2 separate regions of the Homo sapiens genome follow, and region 2 is linked to region 1. The links are contacts of gene promoters, found by promoter capture Hi-C in human tissues and cell types (Jung and others, 2019). All regions are on one chromosome and are shown on one strand. The core of a region is centred on a gene start or on the middle of the fragment in contact, and the rest is flanking DNA. Distances in the headings are between cores, read along the strand shown. Region 1 holds the start of CTDP1 (CTD phosphatase subunit 1). Region 2 overlaps KCNG2 (potassium voltage-gated channel modifier subfamily G member 2).

Region 1 (7,186 bases), core at 2,799-5,298:
TTGTATACCTTTATTTCTTGTTTAGTCTTTAATCCACTGAGTTTTCACATAAGGTGTCAGATAAGGGTCTTGGGGGCCACATGTTGGCCTGTGCAACAGTTAAAGGGCCCCAAGCATAGTCACATACGTGCAGATGATGTTCACACACAGATACCCAGGCCCAGGAGATCTTGGACTCCCCAAGGCCATATTCTATTCCTACAACTGCTGTCCTTCCCCTTAACCTCCTTTTGTTCTGGCCTTGCTAGCACAGACCCTTGCATGCTAATCAAATGACACAGTTGAGTTTGGAGGAAACATACATCAGTGAGGAAAAGTGACCACAGAATCCTTCCAGGTTTCACCAAAACCACCCGTGACGTAGATAAAACTAGAATTCTGGGGACTGGGATTCCTCCTTTTCCCCTGAGCCACTACGTAAAGGTGACTGCATTACAGTCCCATACCTCTTATCTGTGGCCCCAGTATCCATTTTTTTTAAGACAGGGTCTCGCTCTGTTGCTCAGACTGGAGGACAGTGGTGCAATCACAGCTCACTGCAGCCTTGACCTCCTAGGCTCAATGGATCCTCCCACCTCAGCCTCCTGAGTAGCTGGGACTCCAGACAGGTGCACACCACCACACTCAGCTAATTTTTTGTAGAAATGAGGTCTCACTATGTTGCCCAGGTTGGTCTTGAACTCCCGGGCTCAAGTGATCCACCTGTCTCAGCCTCTCAAAGTGCTGGGATTACAGGCATGAGTCACAGTGCCTGGCCCAAATTCATAGTCCTAAACATGGAAAGTTTTGTGTACTTCATTTGGCGGAAAGTCTAACCTGATTTGGCACGAGACGACCCATGATCCTTTTCGTCCTGCTTGTATTTTGCTGCAGGAATATCAGTTTGATGAGGGTGTTGCCCCAGGCCCCAAGTGGAATATGCACACGTCACTTTCCTAAAATCAGAACAATTCAGAGTTCTGAAACACACGAAACACAGCTGTTTCTAAGATTCTTGACTAAGAGGTTGTGGCTTATGCTATTTTTCCTGACTGTGGCCTCACTTTCTTCCCAATAAATGTTTCAATCTGTTGATACTAATGTTTTTTCTCATGATACTTGTAAGATAACTGATTTTAACAAAAGGTGGCACACCTATTAAAGACATGGTTAAGTTTCATTGGCTGTATAGCATCTCTAATTGGAAGACTACATGGCATCTATCCAGGTTGGAGTTGTAATCACCTAGGGATGTCTACATCTGTCTACCTAGATCAGTCTGTCAGTTCCATCGAGGTCTGTATTTCAAAGTCCATACATAACACACGGTTCTTCCCATTTTACAGAATTATTTTTTCAAACCAAAGTTCACATACTGCTGGTGGGAACAGGTTCAAATAGGGAATGCTGATACATATCAACAACCTTTGAGACAAACCTGTTCACACAGTGAGTGTGGAGCCCTTGGCCCCCCTACTTTCTCTCTCGCAGGCCCCGACATCACCCTGGGCTTGCGCTGTTGGTAGTGTTCAAAGGAAAACTTTAGAAACATTAAATTTTACAGAGTTTAATTGAGCAAAGAATGATTCAGGAATCAGGGAACCCCTCAAACCAGAATAGGCTCAGAGAGACTCCAGTGCCACTGTGTGGCCAAAGACTTACGGACAGAAAAGGGAGTGAGGCACAGAAGGCAGAGGTGAGGCCTGCAAACAGCAGGGTGGCTACAGCTCGTGTCTGGCTTATTGAAACAGAGTTTGAAGTGCTGCTGCCTGTGACTGATTCAAGAGTAGGTTACAGTGTCCACACATCCAATTAGATGACTGTTCACTACGTATGGAGAAACCTATAGGCTAAACTTACAGTATGTAAGGAGGCGGCTTCAGGCTACAGCTGAGTAGTGTGTCCTTACAGTTGGAACCAGGAGTTCATGGGAATTCTTCATCATCCAGTGGTCTGTAAATGTTGCCCATGCTGAGTAGTCTGTCCTTACAGTGTGAACCAGGGGTTCATGGGAATTCTTCACCATCCAGTAGTCTGTAAATGTTGCCCATGCTGAGTAGTGTGTCCTTACAGTGTGAACCAGGGGTTCATGGGAATTCTTCACCATCCAGTGGTCTGTAAATGTTGCCCATGCTTTAGTTTTGTTACCTGGTTGCTCTGTTTTTATGGGATTGTGAGAAACTGAAAAACTGTGACTGCTGGAGCCATTTTCCCACAATCCCCATTTTTTAAAAATCCCATAAAGGCTCTCTCGTGAGCACCGCACGTTTTCCCTTGTAGTCACGAGGGTAGGGGCTGGAGAAAGCAGCAGAGATAGTCAAAAACCCACAGCTACAAAAAATGCACTCCTAAGAGCAAGTAATGGCGAGGGCTAAAAGGCACTGTGCCCCTTCTGGGCCATTCTAATTACCACATTTAAATGGTTTTGAGAAAAGAGAATTTTTATCTGAGGAACGCGAGTTCTTTTAATTATCAGGCCGAGAGAGACATTCAAATGAGGCGACAATCGCGCCCTACTACCCCTTGACCTGTGTTCACCTCTTTAAACTGCTACTGGTGGCAACAGCGCCACAAACAGCTATAAATTAACCTAATGACGCCACAATGGACACTATACCCACACTCAATAGCTGAACAACATATAGTCAGTCACTAATCAATGTTATTTCTGTAAACCAGTGAGAATTCCTCACAAACAAGTTCCTATTAGTCCACTCCCTGGCCCCCTTTTTTGCCTTTAAAATCCACTGTTAACTGCTAATCGGAGTACACATTCAGGGCGCCTTGAATTTGTGCTCAAGTGTGGCCCAAATAAACTCTCTACTTAGAGAAACTGTGTCTCCGCTCGTTTTCAGGCCGACAGTTTCCAAAATGTTAGTATTCAGCCTAACATGAGAAAAGTCACCATATAAAAGTGAGGGGGGAAAAGCAAATACAGGATAATCTCAATTGTATATAAAATTTATATACGTAAGGACAAAGATACATAGTAAAAAAAAAATTCTGGCAGGTATTAAGGCTGAAAAAATTAAAACAGTCCAGAGCGGTCTGGCTCAGGCCAGCCTGGGCCTGCCGAGTAGCTGGGACCTCAGCCACCGCGCCTGGCTAAGTATTAATGAATCTGTTTTAGAGATAGGGTCTTGCTACGTTGCGCAGGCTGGTCTCCAACTCCCAGGCTCAGGTGATCCGCCCGCCACAGCCTCCCGAAGTGCTGAGCCTCCCAAAGTGCTGAGACTACAGGCCTGGCCGCCCGCCCGCCAGCTTAATTCACGTAAATTCCAGACAAACGTAGAAAGTGGCTCCTTTAGTAAGCCACTTGCGGCTGCTGCTCATCAGGGTTCGCCTGGGGCCACTGAGACCACGCGCCGGTGCCCGCCCTCCCGCTGCGGTCCGATTTTCTGAACCAACCAGGCGCTTCCGGGCGCCTTGCCCCAGACGGGCCCACCGCCTGCGCGGGCCGAGGGCGGCGCACCTGCCCCTGCGCTTCCGCATCGAAGGTGAGGTCGGAGGAAGAGAAGACCGCAACCCCCAAGCTCCCGCGGCGTGGGGTCCGGGGGGGGACACGAGGCGGGGCCACCAGGACGCCGACAGCCTCACGTCTCTGGGCCCGCGGCGCGCAAGGCATGCCGGGACCCGTAGTCCCGCGACGTTGCGACTCACAGTGCGCGATGGGAGTGGAGGAGAGCGGCTCGCGGTGCATGCCGGAACTCGTAGTCTCGGGATGCTGGGTCTCAGCGCGTGATGGGGTAATGGCACGCAGGCCTGCGTTGAACGCTGGGACTCGTAGTCCCGCCATGCTCTGTCCGCGGTGCACGCCGGGATACGTAGTTCCGAGCGCGCCAAGACCGTCACTGGGACTGGGCGACAGCGGCCCGCGTTGCATGCCGCTGCTCCACGGTGCCGGCGCTCCGAGGAAAAGTAGGTAGGGCTCAGGAACGCAGTTCTTCACGGCCGGCACGCAGGGTTGGTCCCAGGACGGAGCCGGCTCCGGCCCCGCGCGGCGCTCGTATTTACACGCGCACGTACGCACGTACGCGGCGCCCTTGCGTGACGTCACGCGCCCTCCAGGAAGTCGGCGCGGGCTAGGCGACGGGTGGAAGCCGGTACCGAGAGGAACTACAGCGTCGCCGCCTGGGTTGTGTCGCCGCGGTAGGCGCTGCGCTCTGAGCGCAGCGCAGGCCCCGTACCGACCGCCCGCCCGCCCTCTGTCCGCGATGGAGGTGCCGGCCGCGGGTCGCGTTCCTGCCGAGGGCGCCCCGACGGCGGCTGTGGCCGAGGTGCGCTGCCCGGGGCCCGCGCCGCTGCGCCTGCTGGAGTGGAGGGTGGCGGCGGGCGCGGCCGTGCGCATCGGCTCGGTGCTGGCCGTGTTCGAGGCCGCCGCCTCCGCGCAGTCCTCCGGGGCCTCTCAGTCCCGTGTAGCCTCCGGGGGCTGCGTGCGCCCCGCGCGGCCGGAACGCAGGCTGAGGTCGGAGCGCGCGGGCGTGGTGCGGGAGCTGTGCGCGCAGCCGGGCCAGGTGGTCGCCCCAGGGTGAGTGTGCTGAGCCGGGCGGGGCCGAGGGCGGGCGGCTCCGGGGAGGGATCCTGGAGGACCCCCGGGCTGCTGCGTCCGCGGTGGGCAGGGGCGCCCCTGGTGAGGGAGCGATAAAGCGGGACGCAGGCACTGCGCTTCTCCCCTAAAACTGGATAGTCACCACCTGTGGTTTTACCAACGGGGAGCATTTTGAGATAAAAGGAAAGGGTCCTGCGTAGCGACACGAAGTTACTGTTTGGAAAAGCTATGTTTGTTTCTTTCTTTCTGCAGTGATAGTCCCCGCCCCTTCCTTTAGCTCCACCTTTGTGACTTAGGAAAACTCATGGGTGGCTGTGAGCACAAGAGTCATCAGGCAGGCTCCAGACCTGTTATTGAAATATAAACTGTTGGGTGTGTGCACATCTTTAAATTTTTGTAAACTTTGTGAAACGCAGTTGTAAAACCTGGTGCAGTTCTGTTTCGTGGCTAAGGAACGGGCGGAACCCAGGCCTGCAGCGAAGGCAGTAGCCCCGTGGTTGACCACAGTGGGCATTGTCGCAGGCTGCTTCAGGGTGACGTGGGCGTTGTGACAGACTCCACAGCTCTCAGTAGCTGTGCTCTGACCCCAGAAGGGGATATGTTTCCGTAGCACCGAAGTGTCCAGCCATGTTTGAATCTACCCTTGTGTTCTGGGATGGGCGGGCAAGTGGACACGCGTGTGCGCCTGGCTCTGGTAGTTTTGATTGTGAGAACAGAAACTCCAGGGAGAGGTGGACACTCCAGCCCGCAGTGGGCCGGGCGTGAGCTCCCTCTGGGAAAGGTGCCGCTCCTTCTGGGGATGCCACTCTCTTCCCTCCTCGGCAGCCGCGGCTCCTCGTCCCTTTGGCTTGCCCTGACCCTGTGTTTGTTGAGGATCTTCTCTGCATCTGGTTCCGCAAGAGTGAGGACTGGGACAGGAGTCTTCCCGTCACAGCCCCAGAACGTCCTGGCTCCGCTTCCTTTGGAGACAGAGCCTGGGTCCTTGACCCTCGGCACGGGCACTCACTCCTGCCCCCTGCGTGCTGGTGGGTGGGGCTGGGAGGTTCAGGGCCTTGCCTCCCAGAAAATGCCTTCACGGCTTCCTCAGTGGGCACTGGCCGTACCTGGGAGGATTGTGGAGGCAGATCCCAATGCTGGTGTATTCCCTGGACAGAAAACCCCAGGATGGAAGATCCCTACTGAGGTTTCATTCTGTTCCTCTGATTGTACAGAAAGGGCTGCTTTGGCCTAGACAGGTGAGTAACTTGGTTATGTGGCAAGTTAGTATTGAAATTCCATGTTCAGTCAGTCTAGTGAATAAAACCAACCCAGTGCATCAGTCAGTCAGCCAGCCAGGTCATGAGCTTGATGACGGGTTCCCAGCAGTCAGTAGTGTTTACAGGGAGGTGCTGTTTGAGATCTTGGGGTACCTCACAGGGCCCTTTGAGACACTGATGTGATATCATTTCTCCTCAGATGGAGCGTCTGTGTGGCACCAGGTGTCCCTCTGGTTCCAGGAGGCTCATCTCTCTGCCTCCAGTCCATGGGCGGCAGGTAAATCCTTGCCTTAGAGAAAGCCACAGACGGTGCTGCCTGGAATTTGAGGTGGCTTCTTCCCCGTTTCTGTGTACTCCTGTGGGTTTGTGTACATGGGTTTTATGAGCGTTCTGGGGAGTGTGGTGGTGGTGGTGTGACGTCAGCATTTCCGGAGGTGTTCCTGCCCGTGCAGTGGGCGTGGGTGCCATAGATCCAGGAAGGAGCGACTGGAAGGGCTTTAGTCTAAAGCCCTGTGTGCATGTGCCCTGGCAGTTCTGGTCGTCTGTTTGGAATCAGGTTCCTGCCTCGCAGTTGCATTAGCCAGCTGAATTCGGGAGGTGCATTTGCAGCAGGAGTCCATGCTGCTGACGGTCGGCTCCGTGTGGTCCAGATGACACTGCCCTGGCTCTGGGGGGCTGCCGTTGGGAGCCGGTATGTGTTGGCCTCCCCAAAATGCCTGCTGCACCTTTGTGGAACACAGTTGAAAATTACTAGATTCAGTCACTTGTTGACAGATTTTGTGAACAGGGTGGGTTACAAGTGCGTTTCTCTGGCAGCACCCCTGTGATGGGAGTAGCGCCCTGCAGTGTGGACTTGTGGTGGCTTTGCTGACGTCTCTCCATAGAGAGTTGCAGGTAGAAATCTCCGCAGCTTTTGCTTAAAGCCAACAGTGATGGATTTCTCCAGGACGTTGAGTTCCAGCTCAGCAGCTCTTTATACACAATTTACAGCTAACCCTCGAACAACTTGCTTTGGTCTGCGAGGGCCACCTTTATGTAGATGTTTTTCAGTAAATCGTCTGCTGTTCGCATCCATGGGTTCCACGCCCAACACTGTTTGCTGGGTGTGGAGCCCAGCCTGTTTATACAGAGCGCTGACTTTCTGGATCAGTGGGTTCTCCAGGTTGACTGCGGGACCTGAGTATCTGTGGATGTGGAATTTGGTATCTGAAGGAGTCCTGCAGCCCGTCCCCCGTGAGAATGAGGGACTGATTAAATATGGAAGTCTTTCCATAATAGATTGTGCCGCTTTGTGATGAAGTAGAGAATATTGGGCATAATTCCATCCTGATGTTGGAAGGTGATAGGTGTGAGTTTAGTTCTCATCCCTGCGACGCCTCTGGGACGTCGGTTGGTGAAGAGC
Region 2 (6,423 bases), core at 3,032-5,531, 130 kb after region 1:
TCATCCACCATGTGTGGTTGCAGGGCCAGAGGAAGTTAAATTAGCAGATGTTTCTGAGTGTGAGCTGGATTCTGTGCTGAGTTAGAGCTAGAAAAATGTCTCCACCTGCTAAAATCTAGAGTCTAGTTGTGGGGGAGGAGGAAATATAGACAGACGCAGGTCCACATGCACACACACACACACACGTGCACACACACGCGCCTAGGGGACAGGGCAGAGCCAAGAAAAAAGGAAAATGATGAGAGACTGGAGTGAAGGCCCCAGGGAGTGACAGGTGGATTGATCCAGCCAGGCCCGAGCTTGCATCTGTTCACACAGAGCTTTGGGACGTTAGGGTGACAGAGGAAGGAGGCGGCTGGGATAGCCCACACAGGTGGTGGGAGTCTGTCCTCTCCCTGCCAGGGTGCAGGACAGCAGGTCTCAATCTCGCCCAGTGGGACTCAGTGGTCCCTCATTCAAAGGGGCTGAGAGCCAGGCATCCAGCCCACGAAGCTCACATGGAAGCCACTGTGTGGTCTCAGGCAAGGCCGTCGTGCTGGGGGTTGGGGCGTGGGGCCATCAGCAAGCCCCTTGAGCGTTTGTGGTCTCAGGCAAGGCCGCTGTGTCGGGGGTCGGGGCATGGGGCCATCGGGAAGCCCCCTGAGCATTCATGGTCTCAGACAAGGCCGCTGTGTCAGGGTTTGGGGTGTGGGGCCATCAGCAAGCCCCCTGAGAGTTTGTAGTGGATGGTCTCATGGGTGTTTCTTGAACCGTGCTCTGCATGGCCTGCGACATGGTCTCACTGGTTGCTGGGGGCCCCTGAGTTATGGAAATTATTCTAGGATCCTTCAAATGCTTCAGTTAACTCCAGCCAGGCCTTGAGAAGAAAGCACTTTAGAATGAGAGGTTGTCTTTTATCTCTCAAATGATGGTTTTTAGAAAAAAATTGGTAAAATTAATACTTGCTAGGAGGAAGCATCAGAACATGGATTCTCTAACTCTTCCTTAGGGTGTTTTGATTTACTGATGAATTGGCCTCTTTCTCTCCTTTTTAGTGCATGAAGCTTTCCTTTTTAGACTGTAATGGTGACGCTTTCTCAAATAAAACCAGAACTAAGGGCTTCAAAACCACTCCACGCAAAATTAATAAAGAAGAAAATAACATTCTTTCCATTTCATTTCAAGGGCAGTTTTCAAAAATCTGCATTGACTTAAGGCTAGAAAGAGAAAATGCATACATGGAATTTTCTTTCCACCCTTACTCATGGATCTAGGGTCTGTGTGGGGTCTCAGATTTCCACCAGGGGCAAACTTCCTCATCTTTCTTCATGTTTAAATGTTAGAAATAGCCTGAAGCCTTGGGCTGCAGAGAGCTCAGGGGCACCTTTGAGCTGGACAGACCTCTGTGGAGGAGAAAACTGACCCCGGGAGGGTTTGGTCTGGCCAGCGAGGGTCAGCACCCACCTCAGCCTGCCTGCATCTGTCTGCACCTCAGGGTCACACATGCAGATGGACTGAGGGTTCCGAGTGGGTGGCTCAGGGATACTGGGAGCTCGTCGCGTAGTCTGATGTTTTTGCATGAAAGTGAGGTCCTCTGAGGGAGATGCACCGTCTGAGCCTGTTCGTGTTGGGGTGCCGCGAGCAAACCTCACGCCCTCCTCACCTTGCCGACGCTCTCTGCATCTGCCCCAGGACATAGATGATGAGCCTTTCTGCTCTACCGTAAACACCCGAGCACCCAGCGCCCTCACAAGAGAAGCAAGCGCTCAGTGACCACCTCAGCGGCGCGGACTGCTCTGACACGTCACCCCACCGGGATTTTTAGAACGCCTCTGCGCTCGTGCATTCACTCCATTTTACAGATGAGAAACTGGTGTGACTCCCATGTACGTGGCCCAGGCTCACTAATTCTCTCTTCTTAATGCTCTCACGCCTGGGCCAGCCCTTCCTCCCTCCCGCCGCAGCACACGCTGAAGAAACAAGTCCAGCTGTGAAGCCCCCACCTCAGCCTCGGCCCCAGAGTCCGCACTCTGAGAAGTTGCTCCGGCGCCACTGACGGGCACTCCATGTTATATGCCCAGAGTCCTCGCCCTGAGGAGCTGCCGGGGCCGCGCTGACCACACTCCACGTTATGGGCCCAGAGTCCGCGCTCTGAGGAGCTGCCGGGGCCGCGCTGACCACACTCCACGTTATGGGCCCAGAGTCCGCGCTCTGAGGAGCTGCCGGGGCCGCGCTGACCACACTCCACGTTATGGGCCCAGAGTCCTCGCCCTGAGGAGCTGCCGGGGCCGCGCTGACCACACTCCACGTTATGGGCCCAGAGTCCGCGCTCTGAGGAGCTGCCGGGGCCGCGCTGACCACACTCCACGTTACGGTCCCAGAGTCCTCGCCCTGAGGAGCTGCCGGGGCCGCGCTGACCACACTCCACGTTATGGGCCCAGAGTCCGCGCTCTGAGGAGCTGCCGGGGACACACTGACCACACTCCACGTTATGGGCCCAGAGTCCTCGCCCTGAGGAGCTGCCGGGGCCTCGCTGACCACACTCCACGTTATGGGCCCAGAGTCCGCGCTCTGAGAAGCTGCCGGGGACACACTGACCACACTCCACGTTATGGGCCCAGAGTCCGCGCTCTGAGGAGCTGCCGGGGCCTCGCTGACCACACTCCACGTTATGGGCCCAGAGTCCGCGCTCTGAGAAGCTGCCGGGGACACACTGACCACACTCCACGTTATGGGCCCAGAGTCCGCGCTCTGAGGAGCTGCCGGGGACACACTGACCACACTCCACGTTATGGGCCCAGAGTCCGCGCTCTGAGGAGCTGCCGGGGCCTCGCTGACCACACTCCACGTTATGGGCCCAGAGTCCGCGCTCTGAGGAGCTGCCGGGGACACACTGACCACACTCCACGTTATGGGCCCAGAGTCCGCGCTCTGAGGAGCTGCCGGGGCCTCGCTGACCACACTCCACGTTATGGGCCCAGAGTCCGCGCTCTGAGAAGCTGCCGGGGACACACTGACCACACTCCACGTTATGGGCCCAGAGTCCGCGCTCTGAGGAGCTGCCGGGGACACACTGACCACACTCCACGTTATGGGCCCAGAGTCCGCGCTCTGAGGAGCTGCCGGGGCCTCGCTGACCACACTCCACGTTATGGGCCCAGAGTCCGCGCTCTGAGGAGCTGCCGGGGACACACTGACCACACTCCACGTTATGGGCCCAGAGTCCGCGCTCTGAGAAGCTGCCAGGGACACACTGACCACACTCCACGTTATGGGCCCAGAGTCCGCGCTCTGAGGAGCTGCCGGGGCCTCGCTGACCACACTCCACGTTATGGGCCCAGAGTCCGCGCTCTGAGGAGCTGCCGGGGCCTCGCTGACCACACTCCACGTTATGGGCCCAGAGTCCGCGCTCTGAGGAGCTGCCGGGGCCTCGCTGACCACACTCCACGTTATGGGCCCAGAGTCCGCGCTCTGAGGAGCTGCCGGGGCCGCGCTGACCACACTCCACGTTATGGGCCCAGAGTCCGCGCTCTGAGGAGCTGCCGGGGCCGCGCTGACCACACTCCACGTTATGGGCCCAGAGTCCGCGCTCTGAGGAGCTGCCGGGGACACACTGACCACACTCCACGTTATGGGCCCAGAGTCCGCGCTCTGAGGAGCTGCCGGGGACACACTGACCACACTCCACGTTATGGGCCCAGAGTCCTCGCTCTGAGGAGCTGCCGGGGACACACTGACCACACTCCACGTTACGGTCCCAGAGTCCTCGCCCTGAGGAGCTGCCGGGGCCGCGCTGACCACACTCCACGTTATGGGCCCAGAGTCCGCGCTCTGAGGAGCTGCCGGGGCCGCGCTGACCACACTCCACGTTACCGGCCCAGAGTCCGCGCTCTGAGGAGCTGCCGGGGCCTCACTGACCACACTCCACGTTACGGTCCCAGAGTCCTCGCCCTGAGGAGCTGCCGGGGCCTCACTGACCACACCACGTTCCGGGTGCCCAGCGCACCTGCCGCTTATGCAGCTTTCGGTTCTAAACCTCGCTCCCCAGAAGGCAATCTTCACGCCCACTCAAGACGTACTTTTCGGATGCTGCAGCCCAGGCGTCCTACTGCACACTAGGAGCTGTGGTCACCTCGTCCAGAAAAAACAAGAATGTGGCCAAATGCCCGTGGCTGCCCTCTGCGTCTCCTTCATTGTTGCCGGTTTTAAAGCTTCTCCTCCCACTATCGTGACGCTCCAACTTTCCGGGGCTCATGGGGTTGTGGGGCTGGTGGGCGGAGTCCTGTGCTCATTGGCGTTTGGCTGTGGGTTCTGGTCTCAGCGCCGTCCACAGGGCCAGCCTCGCGGAGCCGCCCGCCCATTGCGCTGGGCCTGGGTGGAAGGGCCGATGAGGATGAAACCTCGAGGGAGCATCCCTCAGAACCTGTGTCAGCACCCAGCTGGGCTTCTCATGTGCAAAGGCAGAATCTGATTTAAAAGCCAGGGAAGATGGAGGCGGTGGGAGGGGGGAGTGGGTAATAGTCTAAAGGAAAAAAATCAGGTGAAAGGGACAAAAAGAGAAACTTGAAAAGGAAGCCTTGGAAAAGAGAGAAGAGAGGGTGGACAAAGAGGACCAAGATGAGACTGGAGAATTTCTGATCAGTGGGGAGGGGGGAAGCACCACGCCTAGTCCCGGAGGGGGTTTGCTGGGGGCTGCCCAGCACAGCTCTACAGGGCAGGCAAACCCAGCTTTGGTCCCATCTCATGTCAAATACTGATGCCGAGTGCTGGTGAGTAAAGGCAGGAAACGTAGAAATCAAAAATTAAAAAACAAAGTAGCCAGATGCAGTGGCTCATGCCTAGAATCCCAGCACTGTGGGAGGCTAAGGTGGAAAGATCACCTCAGAAATTTAAGACCAGCTTGGGGAACATAGCAAGACCCTGTCTCTAAAAAAAAAGAATTAACCAGGTGTGCTGGCACAGGCCTGTAGTTGCAGCTACTTGGGATGCTGAGGTGGGAGGATCACTTGAGCTCAGGAGTTTGAAGCTGCAGTGAGCTACAATCACACCATCACACTCCAGTCTGGGTGACAGAGTGAGATGCTGTATAAAAAGACAAAACAAACCAAAAAACGTAGAAAAAAACTAGAAGTAAATATATGCACAGTCTCTGAATGATGAGGACTGTCCAACCTTAGAAGCATGAGTCAGGCTCTTCTCAAAAACAAAAACAAACCAGAACTTAGAGTCAAACAATACTCAAAACTCAGCGTGTTGTTGTATACTAGCAATGAAAAACCTGGAAAGGAAATTAGGAAGACAATTTACTATAGCATCAAAAAGAGTAAAACCCCTAGCAAGAAATGTAACCAAAGAGGTGTAAGACTTGTATGCTGAGAACTACAGAACATTGCTGAAAGAAATTACAGACCTAAAGAAATGGAAAGACATCCCATGTTCACGGATAGGAAGACTTAACATTGTTAAGGTGGCAATACTCCCAAACTGATCTATAGATTCAATACAATTCCTATCAAAATCCTAGCTGACTTTTTGCAGAAATGGACAAGCTGATGCTAAAATTCATATGGAATTACAAGGGACCAAAGTAAGTGAAAAAAATCTTTAAAAAGAACAAAGTTGGAGTTCTCACACTATTTATTAAAACTTACTACAAAGCTACAGTAAGCAAAATAGTGTGGTATTGGCATAAGGAGAGACATATTGATCAATGGAATACAATTGCAATTCTAGAAATAAACCTATACATCTGTGGTCAGCTGACTTTTGATGAGAGTGCCAAGACCATGCAATGGAGAAAGAATAGTCTCTTCAGCAGATGGTGCTGGGACAACTGGATTCCACATACAAGAGAATAAATATCCAAAATGTCCATGATACAATAAAAAAAAGTCACTCACCAAGAACCAAGAAAACCAGAACATAAATGAAAAAAGACAATTAACAGACACCAACATCAAGCTGAATCAGATGTTGGTTTATATGACTACTATTTTAAAGTAGGCTTCACCAATCAACGATGGGTTTAAAATGCTTCACCAATCATGTATTTTCCTGAAACAAATGAAGGAATAGAAAATCTTAGCAAAGAAATGAAAGATATAAAAAAGAAAAAGATGAAATCACGTAACTGAAATATATAACAACAGTTTTTTAAACTCTGACTGCATGGGGTGAACAGTAAAGGGGAGATCACGCTGGATGGAATTAGTGAACCTGACCCACAGAAATTACCCAACATCAACAGAAGAGAGAAGAAAGACTGGAAAGCATGGGCAGAGAGTCACAGGGAGTTGTGTGACGATAACAAAAGTATTAATACTTGTATCATCAGGCCCCAGAAAGAGAGGAGAAAGAGTGGGGCTGAAAAAGTATTTGAAGAAAGAATGCCCCCAAAACCTCCCAGATTTGGCAAAAGACATAGATCTACAGATTCAGGAAGCA

What was found. Contacts are between HindIII fragments. The study calls those that stand out against the background at their distance.
Region 2: a contact is called between a fragment that was not itself captured here and the fragment with the promoter of CTDP1 in region 1, in 2 of the 25 tissues and cell types used here (heart left ventricle and spleen).

What each region holds. Positions count from the first base shown.
Region 1 is chr18:79,675,755-79,682,940 of GRCh38, forward strand. It overlaps CTDP1 (CTD phosphatase subunit 1), which reads left to right and starts at 4,049. Exons shown (of 13, transcript NM_004715.5): 1 at 4,049-4,507. The coding sequence starts at 4,194. It overlaps CTDP1-DT (CTDP1 divergent transcript), which reads right to left and starts at 3,991. Exons shown (of 5, transcript NR_136643.1): 1 at 3,640-3,991. RefSeq lists enhancers at 3,174-3,681, 3,682-4,190, 5,806-6,314, 6,315-6,821. The HindIII fragment of the contact is 29,025 bases long and covers 1-7,186 here.
Region 2 is chr18:79,805,696-79,812,118 of GRCh38, forward strand. The region is part of intron 1 of KCNG2 (potassium voltage-gated channel modifier subfamily G member 2); the gene reads left to right. Among named protein-coding and RNA genes, the nearest start is that of KCNG2, 11 kb to the left of the region's middle. The HindIII fragment of the contact is 3,330 bases long and covers 2,617-5,946 here.